4 separate regions of the Homo sapiens genome follow, and regions 1, 3 and 4 are each linked to region 2. The links are contacts of gene promoters, found by promoter capture Hi-C in blood cells and fetal thymus (Javierre and others, 2016). All regions are on one chromosome and are shown on one strand. Each heading gives the region's core, a stretch centred on a gene start or on the middle of the fragment in contact. The rest is flanking DNA. Distances are from core to core; before and after follow the strand shown.

What was found. Contacts are between HindIII fragments. The CHiCAGO score rates a contact against its expected background, and 5 or more counts as called.
Region 1: a fragment that was not itself captured here is called in contact with the fragment with the promoter of PF4V1 in region 2 in 1 of 17 cell types (neutrophils); the score reaches 5.7 in neutrophils.
Region 3: a contact is called between a fragment that was not itself captured here and the fragment with the promoter of PF4V1 in region 2, in 1 of 17 cell types (fetal thymus). The highest score is 5.8, in fetal thymus.
Region 4: a fragment that was not itself captured here is called in contact with the fragment with the promoter of PF4V1 in region 2 in 1 of 17 cell types (neutrophils); the score reaches 8.5 in neutrophils.

The regions. Positions count from the first base shown.
Region 1 is chr4:73,094,763-73,097,462 of GRCh38, forward strand. ANKRD17 (ankyrin repeat domain 17) reads right to left here. Exons shown (of 34, transcript NM_032217.5): 27 at 2,355-2,510. Among named protein-coding and RNA genes, the nearest start is that of COX18, 26 kb to the left of the region's middle. The HindIII fragment of the contact is 3,504 bases long and covers 1-2,700 here.
Region 2 is chr4:73,851,935-73,854,749 of GRCh38, forward strand. PF4V1 (platelet factor 4 variant 1) reads left to right here and starts at 1,362. Exons shown (of 3, transcript NM_002620.4): 1 at 1,362-1,528; 2 at 1,849-1,975; 3 at 2,101-2,549. The coding sequence starts at 1,429. The coding sequence ends at 2,188. The HindIII fragment of the contact is 5,836 bases long and covers 1-2,815 here.
Region 3 is chr4:73,336,634-73,339,427 of GRCh38, forward strand. All of the region lies in intron 3 of ANKRD17-DT (ANKRD17 divergent transcript), which reads left to right. Among named protein-coding and RNA genes, the nearest start is that of ALB, 66 kb to the right of the region's middle. RefSeq lists an enhancer at 2,453-2,794. The HindIII fragment of the contact is 6,759 bases long and covers 1-2,794 here.
Region 4 is chr4:73,116,596-73,119,295 of GRCh38, forward strand. It overlaps ANKRD17 (ankyrin repeat domain 17), which reads right to left. Exons shown (of 34, transcript NM_032217.5): 22 at 2,093-2,255. Among named protein-coding and RNA genes, the nearest start is that of COX18, 48 kb to the left of the region's middle. The HindIII fragment of the contact is 7,075 bases long and covers 1-2,700 here.

The sequences.
Region 1 (2,700 bases), core at 154-2,653, 760 kb before region 2:
GTTGGGCATCTAATCTAGCCTCAAGAGTCAAGAAAGACTTCTTGTGGGCCCCTTTTGGTGCTTTACTCATATGCTTCTTTTTATTCTCTAATATACATAACTCAAAGAGTGATGTTAAAAATTCATGACTGGGAGTGGTGGCTCATGCCTGTAATCCCAGCACTTTGGGAGGCCAAGGCAGGCAGATCACTTTATGTCAGGAGTTCGAGACCAGCCTGGCCAACATAGTGAAATCCTGTCTCTACTGAAAAAAATACAAAAATTAGCCAGGCATGGTGGTGTGCACCTGTAATCCCAGCTACTCAGGAGGCTGAGGCAGGAGAATCACTTGAATCCGGGAGATGGAGGTTGCTGTGGACTGAGATTGCACCACTGCACTCCAGCCTGGGTGACAGAGTGAAACTCCTTCTCAGGAAAAAAGAAAAAATATTCATTACTTCCCTGTATTCTTATAGTAGCATTAAAATGACCATCCACAAATATGAAAACTTTCTAAAAATCTTTAATAATGTCCGGAAAAAGAAAATCCTACTAGAATTTAAAAAGCAAAATCTGAGGCCGGGCACGGTGGCTCACGCCTGTAATCCCAGCACTTTGGGAAGCCAAGGTGGGTGGTCCACCTGAGGTCAGGAGTTCAAGACCAGCCTGGCCAACATGGTGAAATCTCATCTCTACTAAAAATACAAAAAATTACCCGGGCATGGTGGCATGCACCTGTAATCCCAGCTACTCGGGAGGCAGAGGCAGGAGAATCACTTCAACCTGGGAGGCAGAGGTTGCAGCAAGCCGAGATCACGCCATTGCATTCTAGCCTGGGCAACAAGAGTAAAACTCCATCTCAAAAAAAAAAAAAAAAAAGCAATATCCATCTAATACTTGCAAAATTACATTTTAATTTTAAACATTCAGATATAGATTATAGATTTCCTTTATTATTATTTTTTTTTTGACAGAGTCTCGTTCTGTACCCAGGCTGGAATGCAGTGGTGTGATCATAGCTCACTGCAGCCTCAAACTCCTGGGCATAAGCAATCCTCCCACCTTTCCCAAGTAGCTGAGATTACAAGCACAAACCACATGCCCAGCTAATTTTTTAATTTTGTTTTTAGCAGAGATGGGGTCTTGCTATGTTGCCCAGGCTGGTCTTGAACTCATAGTCTCAAGTGATCCTCTTGTCTTGGCCTCCCAAAATGCTGGGATTATAGACATGAGCCACAGGTGTCAGGCCCGAATTCCTGATAAGCTGATTAAACAATATTTCTAAAAGAAATACAGTATAAAGTTCTCAATAAAGAGAAGCAGTCAAGTATAGTTCAATAAACAAGCAAATTATTTATTGAGAATGGTTAAGTATTAAAAATTGTCATATTTTCTAAAAGGAAGGGCATGATCCCTGTTCTCTATATATACAACTAAGTTACCTAACAACTCTTTTTAACCTAAAGAGCATGATAATCAGCCAGTGATCATCATTTCCAAACTGTATAACACAGTATTAAATGCATATACAAAAACCAAATTATCTTATTAGTGTATAGAGAATATTCTGATGATGTGATTTCAATTAATCCAATAGAGTGTGTATGTGAAGGAGTGAAAGAAAGAATGTGTGTATAGTGTGTGAAAATAGAGACAGAAATAAACATAGGTATGACGGGGACAAGATTTGGTCTAAAATACGGAGGAAATAAGCCAAAAACCTGTATACTGCACTTAGGGATTAACAGTAGTTACTAAGTTTGGTTCACTATAGCTTTTGTTTCAGATAACCAAAAGTTTAAATTTTTACGAAATTTCCGGAAAGTTCTTTAAAATAAGTTATCAAAGAGTGACAATGGATCACATTCTTTCTGGATTTCAGGTGTCTTACCTCCTTTTACGTTTCTGAGATATTGTATTTTTACTCTTGGATACATATTATTTTTAAAATCCCATGCAAAACAAAATATTTTTATCCTGAAACCCTTAAAATAAAGTTATCTTATGATTTAAAGACAACAGTTACTATGATTAGATCAACAGTTTAACATCAATACCTACTAATTCATCAAATGTTTACAAGTAGCTTTTATAATACTTCTTTGTATTATATAAGGCTTTGAGATAACGAAGCTGAGAAAGACACAATCTAAAATAGTTCTCAAAGCAAACTCCAATACTTTTGAGGGGCCAAATTAACACGTAATTTTTTTCATCTAAAATATGGCACAGGCTCTCTCTGTTGGTCAAATTTAGCCTTGAACCATCAGTTTGTTTGCAACCTTTAGAAGAGTAGGAGGAATTTAATTATAAGGTAGATAACACTTGACTGTGATATATAGCACATAAAAAGAATGACAAAAACAATTACTCACCTTCTTACAACTTCTTTCCATCCTTCTTCCCTCTTTTGCCCACGCTTAGGACTTGCTACTGTTAACTTCCCATTTGGAGAAGAAAGGGGAGATGGACCAGATTTTGTACAAGTAGATAGAGAATTACTGGTCCCTTCACTGATAGTTTCTGACAATCTTTAACAAAGAGAGGGAAAGTACATTAAATATGGAACAGATGTAGAATTTTTAAATGATAAAGGTAGTCTACTACCCAATTTTTAAAAATTTATTTTTAAATAACAAATGACGACCTTATTTTTCACTTCTCCTCATATTTAGCATATAATATAGAGAGCCTTTTTTTTTTTTTCTTTTTGAGACAGGT
Region 2 (2,815 bases), core at 112-2,611:
ACATACACACACATATATATATATATATCTACAATATATGTGTGTGTATGTTTGTGTATTCTGTGAGAAATACGAAGAACAGAGTTCTGCAAGATAGAACAACAAGGGAACACAATTATATATAGCTGTCAGGGAAGGCACACCTGAGGAAGTGATATTTAAGCTGACACCAGAAATATGAATAGGTCTTAGCCAGCTGAATAGGCAGGTGTAGGGAGAGTAGGAGAAAGAATTGCATATTCCTACAAAAATGCAGGTTTGCTGAGCATTAGAATATCAGCTAGTTCCATCCAGTGGGTCCCTGACACCCTTCACCACTGTTAGTCAGAGTGACAGGGAACCTTGGGCTTTGGGTTGAGGGTGTACCTTGCCCTGATCAAGAGCCAAAGTCATTCTTTTTTAGAGAAGAGAAAACGGTCGATATGGATCTCTTCCCCTTTCCCGTGTGGGATTCTGTTGCATCCCCTTCACTGTCACCTCCCATCATTCTCACACCCAACTCCCAGATGCCCTGAATCCTCCCACAGAGAGCATCACTGCTCCCTGCCAACAGTGCAGCCCATCTCACCCTGTCACTGGCAGTGACTGAGGACACAGCAGGCTCTGGAAGACATGGCCTGGCAAACTCTCCTTGTCCTCTCTTCTGGACTATTATTCAGGATTGAAACAATGAAGAAACATCCAGGAGCTAAGTTTTTATAAAAATAATGCATTCAAATATTACTTCTGCAATTTTTCTAAGAGTAACGGGAAATAGATCTTGCATCCTACAGTATACTGGGTGATTGTTGGTGGAGCCTGGTAAATCTCATCCAGAGACTAGGGAAGTTTTCCACATTCAGGTGAAATTCAGAAGAGTCATCACCTAGAGACCAAATTAAACTTATTAGTATTAGAAAACAATTGCAAATAGCACACTCTTCAAACACACAGCCATCAAACTCAATGGTAATCAAGACTGAAGTTAGGAGCATATGGGCAGTTCTTGAGTTGAGAAGGAAACAAGAACTGTCTGGGTCCTGAAGCCACCTGCTGTGTAAGTTGCTTGGTGACTACAGAGAACTCTACTATGATACAACACAGAAAATATTTCTCTTCTAAGATGCAAGTAGTGTTTCTAACTCCACAAATGTAAGTGTATATAAACTGAGGTTGGAGGTATGCATCTTTGTACCACCTCCTAGCCAAGGCAGCTGCCCCCAGCCTTTTGTTTTGTAATCTTGGCTGGCCAGAGTCTGAGTCTTCATAGCAGTGTCTTAGCTCCTGCACCACAGTTCCTCGCTGTCCACCCCAGGCTTCCGGACTGGAAGGACAGTGGGACAGTGACGGGGGATAAAAGAAGCCTGGTGAGGCCAGGAGTCACTGCCTGCAGAACCCCAGCCCGACTTTCCCTGCGCACTGGGATCCTGCTGGAACCTCAGCTGCAACATGAGCTCCGCAGCCAGGTCCCGCCTCACCCGCGCCACCCGCCAGGAGATGCTGTTCTTGGCGTTGCTGCTCCTGCCAGTTGTGGTCGCCTTCGCCAGAGGTGAGAGCAGAAACCAGGCTGGGAGGGCCAGCAGCGGCGAGGGGGAGTCCGGGAAGCCCTGGGGCTGGGGAGGAATCCTCTAGGATCATGATCGCAGCTGCTCTTATTGCGCGCGTGCTGAGTCTGCGGGTACAGTGCCAGGCACTGCACGTGCACCTCGCCACCTGATCAGCACAACCTCTGTCTGAGAGAGGTCTGATTTACGGCTAAGGAAAAGAAAGCTGAAGGTAGTGGAAAAGGTCCCTAAAGTATCTCTGGCTACTCAGGGAGTCACAACTCCCACCCCTCCTCCTCTCTTACTCCCTCCCTTTCCCCCTCAGCTGAAGCTGAAGAAGATGGGGACCTGCAGTGCCTGTGTGTGAAGACCACCTCCCAGGTCCGTCCCAGGCACATCACCAGCCTGGAGGTGATCAAGGCCGGACCCCACTGCCCCACTGCCCAACTCATGTGAGTCCTCGCACTGCATCAGTTAGTGCTCCCGCTCCGTGCCTCCTCTGCCCATCCCTCCCCCTTCTAATGCCATTTGCAAACCCAAGGACTGAAAGTCACGTCTCTTCTCTTTTCCCTGCCAGAGCCACGCTGAAGAATGGGAGGAAAATTTGCTTGGATCTGCAAGCCCTGCTGTACAAGAAAATCATTAAGGAACATTTGGAGAGTTAGCTACTAGCTGCCTAAGTGTGCACTTTCAATCTAACTGTGAAAGAATCTTCTGATGTTTGTATTATCCTTCTTATATTATATTAACGAAATAAATCAAGTTGTGGTATAGTCAATCTATTTCTTAATAATACTGCAAAAATAATGCTGACACATCACAATTTCATATTTTAAAATTTCCAGAATTTTAAGCAAAAAGCATTATGAAGGAAGGCTTGGTTTAATAAAGACTGATTTTGTTCAGTGTTATATGTTAGCTGATACATATTTGTTCATTTATGTGATTGCAGTACTTTATAGCTACATATTTACCTTGAATGTTACAATTAGCTTGCCAATAAATATTAGTAGCTCTTAAGCATTACTCGACAGCTTTTTTTTTTTTCAATGAAGTAAATAAGCAACACTCTGCTTTTATCCCCACAAATTCCTTAACATTGGTGATATTAAGATTCTGGGAACTAAGAGAAGTGTGAGGTAATATTTTCATTCATCCTTTAGGAAGACATTGCTCTACACTGGGGAGAAATGAAGGTGTTATAATGTGGGCATATTAGTTTCCTGTTGCTTCTGTAAGAAATTACCACAAACTCAGTGGCTTAACCAACACAAATTTATCGTCTTGTAATT
Region 3 (2,794 bases), core at 213-2,712, 520 kb before region 2:
TGGTGCTTATACACAATGGAGTACTACTGAGTCATAAAAAGAATGGGATCCTGTCATTTGCCACAACATGGATGGAACTGGAGGTCATTATGCCAAGTGAAATAAGCCAGGCACAGAAAAGACAAACTTCACATGTTCTGATTTATTTGTGGGATCTAAGAATCAAAACAATTGAATTCACGGACATAGAGAGTAGAAGGATGGTTACCAGAGGCTGGGAAAAGTAGTGGGGGGCTGGGGACAATGGTTAATGGGTACAGAAAAAATAGAAAGAGTTAGACCTAGTAATCGATAGCACAATAGGGTCACTTTTTATAGTCAATAATAACTCGATAGTACATTAAAAATAATAAAAAGAATATAATTGGATTGTTTATAACACAAAGGATAAATTCTTGAGGGGATGGATACCCCATTTTACATGATGTGATTATTAAACATTGCATGCCTGCATTAAAACATCTCATGTACCCCATAATTGTATACACTTACTATGTACCCACAAAAATTAAAATTAAATATTAAAAAGAAATTTCTGCCTTGAATTACTGAATGGTTCTTCTAAGTAAAAATGGATATTTTTCAAAAGAAATTAATTATTACAATATTGCATGCCTACCCCCAAATGGCAATATTCCTTGGCAATTCTTAATTTCCAAAGATAAATTCAAGAGTAGGGCTTCTCCAGAAGTAATGTTTTGACTATATATTGCTTTTTGTCATTTTAAGCCTGGTTAAAGAAGCTAAAAAGTGTCTAAGTTTATCCATACTTCATTTATGGCACAAGAACATTGATTCATTTTTCTCTCTGCTCACTGTAGCAAAGAGAACCTGAAAGTAAGTTCTCTTTGCCTATGGCAGTGACTTATTCCCATGAACTTATGTCTTTAATATCATCAAGGTAATCTTTGCAGCAGTTTTACTACTTTATATGCTTTTCTTTTGTTTGTTCACTAACTTTCTTGTTTTTGAAACCAATTATGTCTTAAATATGTTTCTGAGGAGCAGCTACATGAGGCTTTAGAGACTTGCAGTTTTCATATTTATGTCTGACCTAAGATTTTGTCTCGGCATCATCACATGCCCCTGTGCTTCTGTGTGCAAAGTAAAATATTCCTGAATGACCATCACAAGTAAATTTATTATGGTTTTTAAAGATATAATTCACATGCCATATGATTCACCCACTTAAAGTGTACAATTCAAGGGTTTTTAGTATATTCACAGAGTTATGCATCCATCAACACAATTTTAGTACATTGTCATTACCCCCTCCAAAAAACCCACATTCCCTAGCCATCACCCTACAATCTCCTTTTCCTCTCCAGCATCAGGCAACTGCCAATCTACTTTCTGTAATTTTCCCACTCTTGAAAATTCATATAAATGAAATCATGGAATATGTGGTCCTTTGTGATAGGTTTTTCACTTAACGTGTTTTCAAGGTTTATGCATGTAGTGGCATGTATCATTACTTCATTTCTTTTTATTATTAAACAATATTTCATTGTATAAATATACTACATTTTGTTTATCCGTTCATCAATTGATGGACATTTGGGTGGTTTCTCTTTTATGCTATTATGAATACTGCTGCTATGAACATTTGTGTGTGCGTTTTTGTGTAGATACGTTTTTATTTTTCTTGGGTATATACCTAGGAGTGGAATTGCTGGATCATGTGGTAACTCTGTTTAACCCTTTGAGAAACTGTCAGACTATTTTCCAAAGTGGCTACCACCATTTTACAGTCCCATGAGCAATATATGAGAATTTGAATATCTCCACATTCTTGCTAACATTTGTTATTGTCTATCTTTTTTCAGGTAGTCATCTTATTGGGTGTGAAATGACATCTGGTGGTTTTGATTTTCATTTCCCTGGTGGCTAATAATGTTGATCATCTTTTCAAGTGCTTATTGACCATTTGTATATCCTTTTTGGAGAACTATCTATTCACTTCCTTTGCCCATTTTTAAATTGGGCTATTGTATTAGTCCATTTTCATGCTGCTGATAAAGACATACCTGAGACTGGGAAGAAAAAGAGGTTTAATTAGGAACTTACAGTTCCACATGGCTGGGGAGGCCTCAGAATCATGGCGAGGGATAAAAGGCACTTCTTACATGGTGGCGGCAAGAGAAAAATGACAAAGATGTAAAAGGGGAAATCCTGATAAAACCATCAGATCTCATGAGACTTATTAACCTACCACAAGAACAGTATGGGAGAAACTGCCCCCATGATTCAAATTATCTTCCACTGGGTCCCTCTCACCGCATGTGGGAATTATGGGATTACAATTCAAGATGAGATTTGGGTGGGGACACAGAGCCAAACCATATCATTCCACCCCTGGCCCCTCCAAATCTCATGTCCTCACATTTCAAAACTAATCACGCCTTCCCAACAGTCCCCCAAAGTCTTAACTCATTTTAGCATTAACCCAGAAGTCCACAGTAAAAAGTCTCATCTGAGACAAGACAAGTCCCTTCTGCCTATGAGCCTGTAAAATCAAAAGCAAGCTAGTTACTTCCTAGATACAATGGGGGTACAGGTATTGGGTAAATACAGTTGTTCCAAATGGGAGAAATTGGCCAAAACAAAACAGTTACAGGGCCCATGCAAGTCCAAAATCCAGTGGGGCAGTCAAATTTTAAAGCTCCAAAATAATCTCCTTTGACTCCAGGTCTCACATCCAGGTCACACTGATGCAAGAGGGCCCAACCCCACGCAGAGAGCCAACCCCACATTTCCCTTCTGCACTGTCCTAGCAGAGGTTCTCCATGAGAGC
Region 4 (2,700 bases), core at 1-2,500, 740 kb before region 2:
TTTTAGACTGCATGTTTCTAAACTTTTCTCTAAATGAATAGCTCAAATGCCACTTGCATCATTCCCTAAGGATCTCTCTAATACTTCTACAGTGTTTAAACTATTTACATGGGACAACTCAAACAGTTACCTAACTTTGGGTATGGATCTTACCTTTCCATATTGTACCCTATATAACATAGTATATGTTATATATACATATATAGACAATATGTATATACATATATAGACAATGTATATAGACATATATACACAACATATACTATGTTGCACCCTATATAATATAGTACTCTAGCCCACAGTTGCACATGTTAGGTACTCAAGAAATAATGGAACAAATACATAAGAGTATAAAAGATAAGCACTGCTCAACTGAAGTCAATAAGTCTATCTGGAAAGATATATGCATGTTAGATACTAGAGTAATAACTAATAAAAATAACAACTCTAATAGTTAGAGTAATAACATATAAAAATATGTATTTCTCCAAATGAATGATAAACACTGTCAAACTTGTACGACCTCTAGAGATTAGAGATCTCGATGTGAACTCAAATAGGATGAAGAGTTTGGTAGGAGAGACTTCAACTATAACTAAAGAATGAGTAACTTTGGAAAAATGAAGAAAGACATGGGCATTCTATGAGATGAGAACAAAGGTGATGTGAGAGATAGGAACAAGGAAAAGACCAAGCAAGAAGATAATTCTCCACATTAAGGATTCTAATGGGAGATAAGATCTACAAGCACTAAATTGTGGTGGCTGTGAATACCAAACTAAGATTGGATTTCAAATGATTTCAGAAACTGGGGAGACACAGAAAGGTTCTTGAAGAGGTTCTCTAATATAGTAGAGTGGTTAGAAAGATTAACTTGATAATGATATGCTAGCTTGCTTGGAGAAGAGGCAGCTAGCCAGTGAGAAGGAATAAGTTGGATTGCTGAGAAACAAAAATATAGAGAGTCAAAAATACAGAGTCACTGGTAGTCCAGATTATCTAGGGAAGAGGTAGAATAAAGAACAGCGGTCAGAGATAATAAGAGAAAAAGGAAGAAATAGCTTATTGTGATTTATTTATTAAAAATTTTCAACATTTTGGCATCTACAGGGAATTTTATCTACATATCTCCAAATGACAAAACTCAAAATTATAATCCCTGTAACAGTAATCTGATATTCCCAATAACAAACTAAAGCTGGATTTAAGAGATCAATGGATTATCAAACAAACCATTAAATCAAATTACTTACACACAGCTCTGTGCTATGTACAGAAAGAGAAAGTTTGTTTTACTTTCACGGAATTTGTATTTTTACCTTTAAATGTAATATACTTGAAACTTAGTAGTTTAAAATGCTGGTAGTGGCATTTTCATTATTTAATTCATTTTTTTTCCTAGTAAAGTCAATAATTGAAATGAAAACAAATTTTTTTTGAGACGGGGTCGTACTCTTGTCACCCGGGCTGGAGTGCGGTGGTGCAATCTCAGCTCACTGCAACCTTTGCCTCTCAGGCTCAAGCCATCCTCCTATCTCAGCCTCCTGAGTAGCTGGGACTATTAGCACATGTCACCACGCTCGGCTAATTTTTATAATTTTTGTAGAGGCAGGGCTTCGCTACATCTGCCTGCCTTGGCCTCCCAAAGTGCTGAGATTACAGGCATGAGCCACCATGCGTGGCACAACCCCCGCCCCCAGCAAAATAACCAGTTTAAGTGATATTTTTCTCTGTAGTGGTAATACAAGAAAACACTCACTAAGAGTAACTAACTGGAGGTACTTACTTAAGTATCTTAACTGGATTTACACTTTGTGAAGATTAAGACTGCAACTAGATTTTGAACACATTACTTAGAACAGCTTTTTAAAAGTTTACTTAGCTCTGATGTCCAATAAGGTTAAAATTAATGGCTTTTCTGAAAAACCTGTATATATCTACATTTAATGTTGCCATAAGAGTAATTATTTGCATATTATTGCTTTCATCACAGCTGCAAAAGCACAAAATGAGTCTTTAGTGATCACTAAGCCATGTACTTCCTAGTGTAAGTAAAAAAACATCCAGGTAAATGAGGATGAAAGACTTATACCTTTCTAAATGCTGCCATAAGAGGAGTTATCTTGCGGTTATCTGCTGCATCCACATCTGCACCTGCTTGCACCAGTAACTGAACCACATCGAGGTGTCCACCATTTGCTGCTAGCCACAATGGAGTGTTCCCCTTCTTGTTACGTACATCAATATGAGCTCCCCTAAAAACCAATGACACAGATAGCATTGTCTTTTTTTTTTTTTTTTTTTTTTTTGATACAGGGTCTTGCTCTGTCACACAGGCTGGAGTGCAGTGGTGAGATCATGGCTCACTGCAGCCTCCACCTCCAGGGGTCATATGATTCTCCTACCTCAGCCTCCAGAGTAGCTGGGACTACAGTCCCATGCCACCACGCTCAGCTAATTTTTAAATTTCTTGTGGAGATGGAGTCTTCCTATGTTACCCAGGCTGGTCTCGAACTCCTGGGCTCAAGTAATCCTCCTGCCTCAACCTCTCAAAGTGCTGGAATTATAGGCATTGTCACCACACCTAGCCTAGCATTGTCTTAAATAGAATGAAATGACACAGTAACAAAAATCAACTATCAACATGTGAAAATATTCTGTAAAGATAAAAATTGTTTTCAATATTCAAAGATGTAAATA